2 separate regions of the Homo sapiens genome follow, and region 2 is linked to region 1. Evidence: promoter capture Hi-C in human tissues and cell types (Jung and others, 2019). All regions are on one chromosome and are shown on one strand. Each heading gives the region's core, a stretch centred on a gene start or on the middle of the fragment in contact. The rest is flanking DNA. Distances are from core to core; before and after follow the strand shown. Region 1 overlaps DDB2 (damage specific DNA binding protein 2). Region 2 holds the start of NUP160 (nucleoporin 160).

Region 1 (4,744 bases), core at 1,410-3,909:
TCCAGCCTAGGTGACAGAGCAAGACTCTCAAAAAAAAAAAAAAAAAAGTAGTATTTGCCAGTAACAAGCCAACCTAATAATGGAGATAAGTCTTACAGAAAACTACAAGAATGGTTTTAGGTTGTGTGTGCCTCTGCCATTGCACATTTTTAATCCCTAGCTGGCCTCCCTGGCCCTTAGGGCACCTTCAGGCCTTCTCCCTCATTTGCATTTCCTAAGATCATACCAACTGGTAAACGTTTTAACATCAGCCTGACCCAGATACTGACCTAAGAGGCCTACAACAAAGCAGAAAAAGCCTCTGGTGACCAAACCCTAACAGGACTTGAGTTCTGGAGGAGCCCCACTGTCATCCTGTCTCCATCAACACGAATAACTAAGAGCTGAGTGTAAAATTGCTAATGGCTAAAAAAGAGAAGGAAACCCACATTCCCCAGATCACCCCACTAAAAACAAATCTGGCAGTTATTAAAATGGCAGAATTGGATGGGATTTTCCTAAACTTCTCAAGGAAGTTTTGAAGGAAGAAAGACATGGTTAGCAGGAAGGAAGAAATAGTACATGCGAAGGCTTAGAAATAAGTCACAAATCACACACAGGAAGCTGTAATGACTTACGACACCTGGCTAGATACAAACTGGGACATGCAGACAGATGGATTATCGGGAACACTGATGGATTAACAGGAACACCAACTGGGGAAGGATTCTTGACATTATTTATTAAGAGCTTGGATGTGATTGAGGTACGTGGGGGCCACTCAATATTCAATCATCATTTATTGAATACTTACCAGTACTTACCAGGTGCTGGGCATGGGGCCAAGTGCTTTAAGTATACTGACTCATCTTCACAACAACCCTATCAGTTAGAGACTAGTATTCCCTTTTTGCAGATGAGGAAACAGATCCAAAATATAAGTAATTTGCCCAAGGATTCTAACCCGGGGGGTCTGGCTGCTGGAAACTGGCGCTCCCCACCACTATTCTGAACTGACCAGAGAAGTATAGGCATAAAACCTGAAGATCTGAAGAGGATCTGTAGTTTTGGAAAAGAATGCAGAACTAGCAGAGCTCAGTCTGCATGGGGGCTTAGGCAAAAAGGCATCAAAGGACTTGAAAGCTATTAGTGTTGGGGACTAATGATAGAGAAGCTATTAACAAGAGCCTGAGAAAAGGTGGGAAAATAAAAGACTTATTTTTATTATTAGAAGCACTGAAACCTGCAAGACAAACTAAGAAGGCAAAGTTGCCAGGCGCAGTGGCTCATGCCTGTAATCCTAGCACTTTGGGAGGCCAAGGTTGGGGGATGGCTTCAACCTAGGAGTTCAAGACCAGCTTGGGCAACATGGCAAAACCCCATCTCTATAAAAAATAAAAAAATTAGCTGGGTATGGTGGCGCATACCTGTAGTCCAATCTACTTCCGAGGCTAAGGCGGAAGGATTGCTTGAACCCAGGAGGTTGAGGCTGCAGTGAGCTATGTTTGTGCCACTGCACTCCAGCCTGGGTGACAGAGCAAGACCGTTTCAAGAAAAAAAAAAAAAAAAAAAAAAAGGATCAGCCTGGGTAACACAAGAATACCCTGTCTCTACAAAAAAAAAAAAAGTGAGGCAGGAGGATCGCTTGAGCCTGGGAGATCAAGGCTGTAATGAACCATGCTTGCCCCACTGTACTCCCACCTGGGTGACAGAGCGAGACCCTGCCTTAAAAAAAATAATAAAAAAATAAAAAATGAAGGTTTGTGGGTCAACTGTACACAGGTAACTGAAGCTGAGAAGACAGAACAGAGGGTCAGGATCTTAGAAAATTCTCACAGTGAGATCAGAGCTGGGCTGAAAAAACTCAGAAAAATATCTTATCAGCGAGACAGAAAACTCAACCATATGGGATGGCAGAAGTGGGATAAAAGGAAGAGAGAGAGCCAATGGGTAAGAGATGCTCTGTGCTCGGGCCAGGAGCGATCTGGGGTGGCAGGCTTACCACATCAGCCCTTCCCCACTGTGGGCAGACCTGCTCCGGCCTCATGATCACAGCCTCCTTCTGCGAGCTCCTTCCCACCGCCACTCACCTTGATGGGTGTGAGGTGCTGGAAGTGACGGTGAGGGTGCGGGATCAGGCCCAGGGGGCAGTCCCACTGGGAAGCAGAGTAAACTCGGATCTCGCTCTTCTGGTCCGTGGTCAGGAGCCGGGCTCCATCGGGACTGAAACAAGCTGGCAAAGTGAAAAGCCCCTGAGCTGAAGGAACCACAAGCCCTCTGTGGTCCTGGCCTTGCAGGCCTTCTCCTGCAGGGGTACTCTCCCTCCCACTCCTCTCTAGACAGGAGCGGAAAGGAAGAGGTGAATCTGGGCTGTGAACAACAACAAAAAAATTCTGGAAACTCAGCAGCTGATGGGGACAGCCACAGCCACAAAGGTTCCCAGACATCAGCTTGGCAGACGCTATCAGGGGTAAAGGTTTGACGTAGTGGCTTCCACACTGAGGGAAAACCCCAGCAGTGGTCAGACAGGCAGGGTCTGCAGGAGAGATGAGGTCTGGGATATCACACCTGCGTTGACAGGATGCCTGTGCGGCAGCGAGTAGAGGAAGCTGGCTTTCCCTCTAACCTGGCGCAGGTCCCAAATTTTCACTGTTTGATCTACGGAGGCTGTGGCCAGGAACCAATCACAGCATGGGTTCAGGGCCACATGCGTCACTTTCTTTTTGTGCATTCTGAGATTCCAAAGCTGCAGAGAAGAGCTCGGTTCAGGTGGGGACACAGAACCGAGGTGGGGGTGAGGGAGGGAAAGGCAGGACCTCGGAGAACGCACCTCTTTGCCGTCCATGTTCAGCAGGATCACGTTCCCCACGTTGTCTCCTGTGACCACCATTCGGCTACTAGCAGACACATCCAGGCTACAAAACCAGATGCTGGAGGGAGAGACTGTGTTGTAAGATTCTTGGGGACAGAGATAGTCCTATTTACTCACTGTTGCCGCTCCGGTGACTAACCCACAGCGGGCATTCAATAAATATTTGTTGAATGAATGAATAACTGTCTTGCCGTGGATTCCTAGTGAGGAACATTCAGACTGCTCTACCGTCCAGACAGAGGGGATGGGATAATGGGGCTCAGAAATCTGTCTGGTTATGGCTGGGCCCAGGATCCCCAGCTCCTAAAAGTCCCTGAAGCAGACAAAGCTTATACCATAAAGCAAGCCCTGAGGCACGCCTGCCCCCCACACCCCGGGTTCTGAGCAAGCCTCCTTTACTGCTCTCTCCTTTCACTCTTCACCCTTTAGGCCAAAGGAGACACAAGCCAAAGAGGGATTGCCTGGCCCTGTTCCTCAGAGCTGGCTAGAAAAGCACTTCTGCCCCCTTCTGAACACTGGGGGAAAAAACACAACCAGGAGCTCTTCTGGTCCCTCAAACCACTGGACTGGGAGGCTGACTAGGAGGGTGCTTCAGGGATCCTGCTATTCAGCCAGAAGAGCTCAGCTCACAGTTTTTCTCTCAAACTCTCAAATCCATGCTACACTGCCTTTTGCCATCCCCTATGAATATCTTCAAGCAGGAAGATTTCTTGCGGAAGAGTAGCCTGGAGCCTTGTCTATCCAATTGCCTGCTGATTTGCGTGCGCATGCACTCCTCATCCCTGCGGGACAGCCCAGGATCCAATCCAATGCTAGTTACACCCCAGCACCCTCACTTAATTCCTCAGGGAGCAGTCAGAGTCACGGCTCTAGCTGGAAATCAAAGTGACGAGTATTCTGTAATTTTTTTTTTTTTTTTTTGAGATAGATTTTCGCTCTTGTTGCCCAGGATGGAGTGCAATGGCGCCATCTCGGCTCACTGCAACCTCTGCCTCCTGGGTTCAAGCGATTCTCTTGCTTCAGCCTCCCAAGTAGCTGGGAATTACAGGGGCCTACCACCACGCCCAGCTAATTTTTTGTATTGTTAGTAGAGATGGGGGTTTCACCATGTTGGCCAGGCTGGTCTCGAACTCCTGACCTCAGGTGATCCACCCACCTTGGCCTCCCAAAGTGCTGGGATTTCAAGCATGAGCCACTGCACCCGGCCGCATTCTGTAATTTCTCCAGCCACTTTCTCTTGGGAAGTCCAGAGCACTTTATGGAAAAGATTCCATCCATATAAGCTTCCACCCAGGAACAGGTCAGGTCATTACACCACAGTGAGTGCAGGGCATTCAGTCTCAAGTTCTGAGCTGTTGCTCCATTCTCTAGGTGGCTTTCTGGGTCCACGCCATGCTGGCTTATCTAGTGAGGGTCAAGGTCCAGTCTAATACAGGTATGACTTACAGAAGAGCTGAGGCTCCAGAACACCTTCCCAAAGCAGTAACCCACCTGGACCAAAGTGAGGGCAGCCAAGGAGCAGTTTGAGAAAGAGAAAGAAGGGCGGAAAGTGGCTGACATCTTTCCTTTCTTCCCTGGGCCAGGTTGGGTTAAGGAAATGGGATCTGGATGCTCTTGCCGGAACTACACCTAAGCTTAGAAGCCCTTTCCCCTGCTAGTTAAACTACTCACTTGATGGTGTCTGAGCTGGCAAAAACTCGTAGAATGTTGCCTTTAAAGTCTTGCAGCCTAGTTGTTCCCTCCATTGAGGAGGCGTAAAACTGGTTGGTATTGAGAGGGTTAAACTTCAGCCCAGTGATGCTCCCTCCAGCTCCAATCTAACACGAGGAAGGAAAAAGCCAGTGAGTGATGATGGGCCTGGCCGTGAGGAACCAGGCCTGGGCACACATGCTG
Region 2 (4,744 bases), core at 1,314-3,813, 610 kb before region 1:
AGCCTGGCCAACAATAGCGAAACTCCATCTCAATAAAATATATATATATATATATATATATATATATATATATATATATATATATATATGAGAATGAGAGAGAAGGAATTAAAACACTCTTGAGTTTTGCTGTGGGTGAGAGGAGAAGAGATATGGAGTAGTAGCTGCAGAGAGTGGAGGTCGAGGGAATGTTTGTATGCTTAGTACATACAGTACTAAGAGAAAAGGGGAAAAGACTGAAAATGGAAATAATTGAATTGCTAGAATGATGTCCTTGAGCAGGTGTTCTAAGGAAGTAGAAAGGTTGTCTCTGCATAAGCTCAGAGACAGTTTATAGTAACAGGAAGGGAAGGCAAAATATGTGGTTACAGATGCTGGTAGGTGGGGAGATGTCATTATAGAGGAAGTCCTCCCTTCCTCCTTCCTTCTTTCCAGATGGGTGTCTTTCTGGCCATGCTGGAGCACAGTGGCAGGATTGTAGCTCACTGTATCCTCCAACTCCTGGGCTCAAGAAACCTCCTATAGCTGGGACTACAGAGGCACACAACTATGCCTGGCTAGTTTTTTAAAAATTTTTATTAGAGATGGGGGTATGTTGCCCAGGCTTGTCTTGAACTCCTGGCCTCAAGCCATCCTTCCATCTCAGCCTCTGCTTTAATTTTCTAAATGAAGAAGCAAGCTGAGAGTCAGGATGACAAAGGAGGCAATGGAGGTTATAGGAGTTATGAAATATTCATTTAGAACAGTAAATGGAGAAGGCAAATACAATGTGTTTGCTGGGCAGCATTATGGGCCCACTCAAGGTACATGGTCCTGATGGAGTTACAGGGAGGCATGTCAGTATGGGTGTATAGTTTTCTGTTTTCTTTCTTTTCTTTTTTTGAGACGGAGTTTCGCTCTTGTTGCCCAGGCTGGAGTGCAACGGCGAGATCTTGGCTCACTGTAACCTCCACCTTCCGGGTTCAAGCGATTCTCCTGCCTCAGCTTCCCAAGTAGCCGGGATTACATGAGCGCACCATCATGCCCAGCTAATTTTTCTTTTTTTCTTTCTTCTTTTTTTTTTTTTTTTTGAGACAGTCTCGCTTTGTCACCCAGGCTGGAGTGCAGTGGCGCGATCTTGGCTCGCTGCAACCTCCACCTCCCAGGTTCAAGCGATTCTCCTGCCTCAGCCTCCCGAGTAGCTGGGATTACAGGCGTGCACCACCATGCCCGGCTAATTTTTTGTATCTTTAATAGAGACAGGGTTTCACCATGTTGGCCAGGTTGGTCTGAAACTCCTTACCTCGTGATCCACCCACCTCTGCCTCCCAGAGCGCTGGGATTACAGGCGTGAGCCACCGCGCCCGGCTAATTTTTCTATTTTTGGTAGAGACCGGGTTTCACCATGTTGGCCAGGCTGGTCTCGGACTCCTGACCTCAAGTGATCCTCACGCCTTGGCCTCCCAAAATGCTGGGAGCCACGCCCGACCCGGGTGTATAGTTTTCTCCAGTCATGTTCAGCTACAGATTTGAATGTAGTCGAAGTTGTAGTTTTTACCGATGAAGAGTTAGGCAATGAAGTAATTTAATGGTATTCAGGATAAGAAAGAAACACCAAAGAAGTGTGGGACAGTGAAGATTTTGTAGAACAATGGATTCCAGGTAGAATGAGGGGACTGCACTGCCAAAGTTGGTGTCCCAGAGGGAGTGAAGTGGAAAGATAGAAAATGATGGTCGGAACCAGATAAATGAAACGGAGAATGACAGGGAATGGTTGTGGTCACTGGTAATAGAAGTGCTTTAACTTCTATTGGCTATCACTAAGGAACAAAACCTTCCCCGCTGGAGATTAGCATTTTCCTCGATTTTGAACATCTACTCCCACAATATCTTCTAAACACCCACTATGGGCCCTTACTGCATTGACAGCCAAGTGCAAGATCACGGGTGGAAGGAATGGCAAATTCCTTTCACGTATCCAAGTGAGTAGCACTCAGGTAACCTCAGCAAGTGGCAGCACCAAGGTTTACCACATTACGTTTCATTATACAGGAATACACGAATACAGTCTCTTGGGGAGGGGAAAGACCAAAACCAAAGGCCTTTCCCTCACTACCCCTTCCTCACCCCGCCATCCCAAGTGTCGCCACTGAAGAGCGAAGGGAGGATCGCCAAAGATTTACAGACGGACACCCTAACCGAGGGAGAGGTGACCATAAACCCGGGATCCGGCAGAGGACGCCGAAAGGCCGGGACTCCCCGGACCTCGCCCCTCCTGGTCGACTGAGCCCCGCGTTTTAGAAACAGAAACAAACCCGGCCCCGCCCCCTGCCCTGCGGCCGCTGAGAAAAGAGCACCGCCCTCCGGAGGCGTTCCAGCCGGCCACTGGAAGGTTCCCGCAGATAGAGTCTGCCTCCCCTGCCCCCTTCTCTTCTGGATTCCTCGCTGCCCACCCTCATTCTCCCGGTGGAAGCCTCGCAACGAAGGGCCGGAGCCGCCTTTCTGCTCCCGGAATGCTTCACCTGTCCGCAGCTCCGCCCGCCCCACCCCCGGAAGTGACGGCGACCGCGCGGCCCTGCCTTTGTTCCGTTGGGCGTCGCGGCGACGGCGGGAAGATGGCGGCGGCGGGAGCCCTGGAACGGAGCTTCGTGGAGCTAAGCGGAGCTGAGCGCGAAAGGCCGAGGCACTTTCGGGAATTCACAGTCTGCAGCATTGGTACGGAAATGGCCAGGGAGGGTGCGATCCCATCTGTCCCCTCGGGCTCCTCTCATGGGTCCCAGGGTCCCTGACGCCCTGTTTCATCCTCCTGAGTCCACATGCCTCTAGCCCCGGGATCAGAGATTCCTTGATGTCCGACGTTTTCCTCTTTTCTTTGTATGGGTTGTCAGTCTGTCACTCTCTGCTTTGTCAGCTCCCTTAGTCCCTGTCATTTCTCAGAAGACGCGTGTGCAGGCTGACCACGTTCATTTTGCAGGGACTGCAAATGCCGTGGCTGGCGCCGTAAAATACAGTGAAAGCGCGGGAGGCTTTTACTACGTGGAGAGTGGCAAGTTGTTCTCCGTAACCAGAAACAGGTTCATTCATTGGTAAGTGTTGTGGTTCGCCAAACTCCCCTGGAAGGTAGGGTTTGGTGTATAAATTTTCGTCGCTGTACCCAAAGTGCTATTCTAGAAGCGGTAATTGACACTTAGGGAAAGAGAAAGATTGTTTTTTCAGTTCGTATCAGAATCGGGAAAACTGAGACACAGAGTTCTAGAAGAGATACCTCTCCCCCTCCCCCCCCCCACCCCCACACACACATACACCAAGCAACACCAGAAGCAGAGGAAATGTAGCTTAGGGGAATAAAGCCCATAAGACCAATTTTAAACATGAACCCGTTATGTTTTTATAGTGCTTTACAGCTTCCTTCATTGTACAAATACGTTCGAGCTTCAATATGTCAGGCATTGTGCTAGGTACCAGGACGAAATGAACAAAACTGCAATTTTCATCATGCAAGACGTTGTAGCAATGTCAGAATAGATGTAGACCCACTTTTCATGGGGAAATTTTTTGGAGGAAAACTTGCCCTAGAGGAAAAATATACGGGTTATGAGAGGCTAATAAGAGGACCAAATATAATTAGTGGGGCAGGGAAAGGCTTTAAGGAATTCACAGTTACCCTGAGATCTAAAGGACACGAGGTTAGCCAGGCATGGGGAGTGGACAGAGAGGAGTCCAGCAAGTAGGATCACCATATGCAAAGGTCATGAAGTGGAAAGAATGTGGCGGGTTTGGAACTGACCAAAGATCTGTGTGGCTTAAGTGCAGTGGGTAAAACAGAAAGTGATGTGAGATACTGAGGCTGGAGAGGTAGGCAGGACTCGGACCATGAGGGACCCTTAGGCCATTTTTAAGGATTTTTGGATTTTATCCTAAGTACATTGAGTAATAATTGAAAGATTTTTAAAGAGTTACTAACATCAAAATTGCATTTTTGGATGGGAACAGTTAACACTAGGGATTCCAAAAGGAGGGAGGGAGGGGAGCAAAGGTTGGAAAACCTATCGGATACTGTGTTCACAACTTGGGCGGCAGGATCATCAGAAGCCCAAACCTCATGTATATAGGAATATACACACAATATACTCATGTAACAAACCTGCACATGTACCCCTGAATCTAAATTTTTTTAAATGTATTTTTAGAAGATCTCAGTCTACTTTGTGGAAAGTGGATTTGGATTAGATGGGTATAATACAAAAAAAATTTTGCTTTTATCATGGCCCAAGTAAGGGTTGCTGGTGGCTCAATTGTGGGAATGACTAGAAATAGAAAAGTAGATGGATTCAAGATACCTTTGGAAGATAGATTCACTAGGGCTTGGTGGTGGATTGAATATGGGGTAAGGGATGGTAAAAGAAGAGAGAACAAGGACAGCTCCCTGGTGTCTCATGTGACTAACCAGATGTGAGTGGGGAGGGGTTGCCATTTACAGAGATACCCGGAAGATGGATTTTGGATAGATATGAATAATTCTATTGGACATAGTAAATTTGAAGTACCTGGGGAGCAGCCCTTTGGAAATGTCAAGTAGGCATTGAAGTTTACAGGTCTAAGGCTCAAAAGAGTGACTTTATGTTAGAGATACAAATTTCATTTAATTAAATATTTTGGCTGGGCACAGTGGCTCACACCTGTAATCCCAGCACTTTGGGGGGCTGAGGTGGGAGGATCTCTTGAGGCCGGGAGTTCAAGACCCCATTTCTACAAAAAAAATTTT

The links. Contacts are between HindIII fragments. The study calls those that stand out against the background at their distance.
Region 2: the fragment with the promoter of NUP160 here is called in contact with a fragment that was not itself captured in region 1 in 1 of the 25 tissues and cell types used here (hippocampus).

The regions. Positions count from the first base shown.
Region 1 is chr11:47,232,738-47,237,481 of GRCh38, reverse strand. DDB2 (damage specific DNA binding protein 2) reads right to left here. Exons shown (of 10, transcript NM_000107.3): 4 at 4,523-4,668; 5 at 2,810-2,909; 6 at 2,548-2,725; 7 at 2,070-2,212. Among named protein-coding and RNA genes, the nearest start is that of ACP2, 14 kb to the left of the region's middle. The HindIII fragment of the contact is 6,251 bases long and covers 1-4,744 here.
Region 2 is chr11:47,846,169-47,850,912 of GRCh38, reverse strand. NUP160 (nucleoporin 160) reads left to right here and starts at 2,563. Exons shown (of 36, transcript NM_015231.3): 1 at 2,563-2,694; 2 at 2,954-3,065. The coding sequence starts at 2,595. RefSeq lists enhancers at 474-523, 554-603, 2,066-2,625. The HindIII fragment of the contact is 15,264 bases long and covers 1-4,744 here.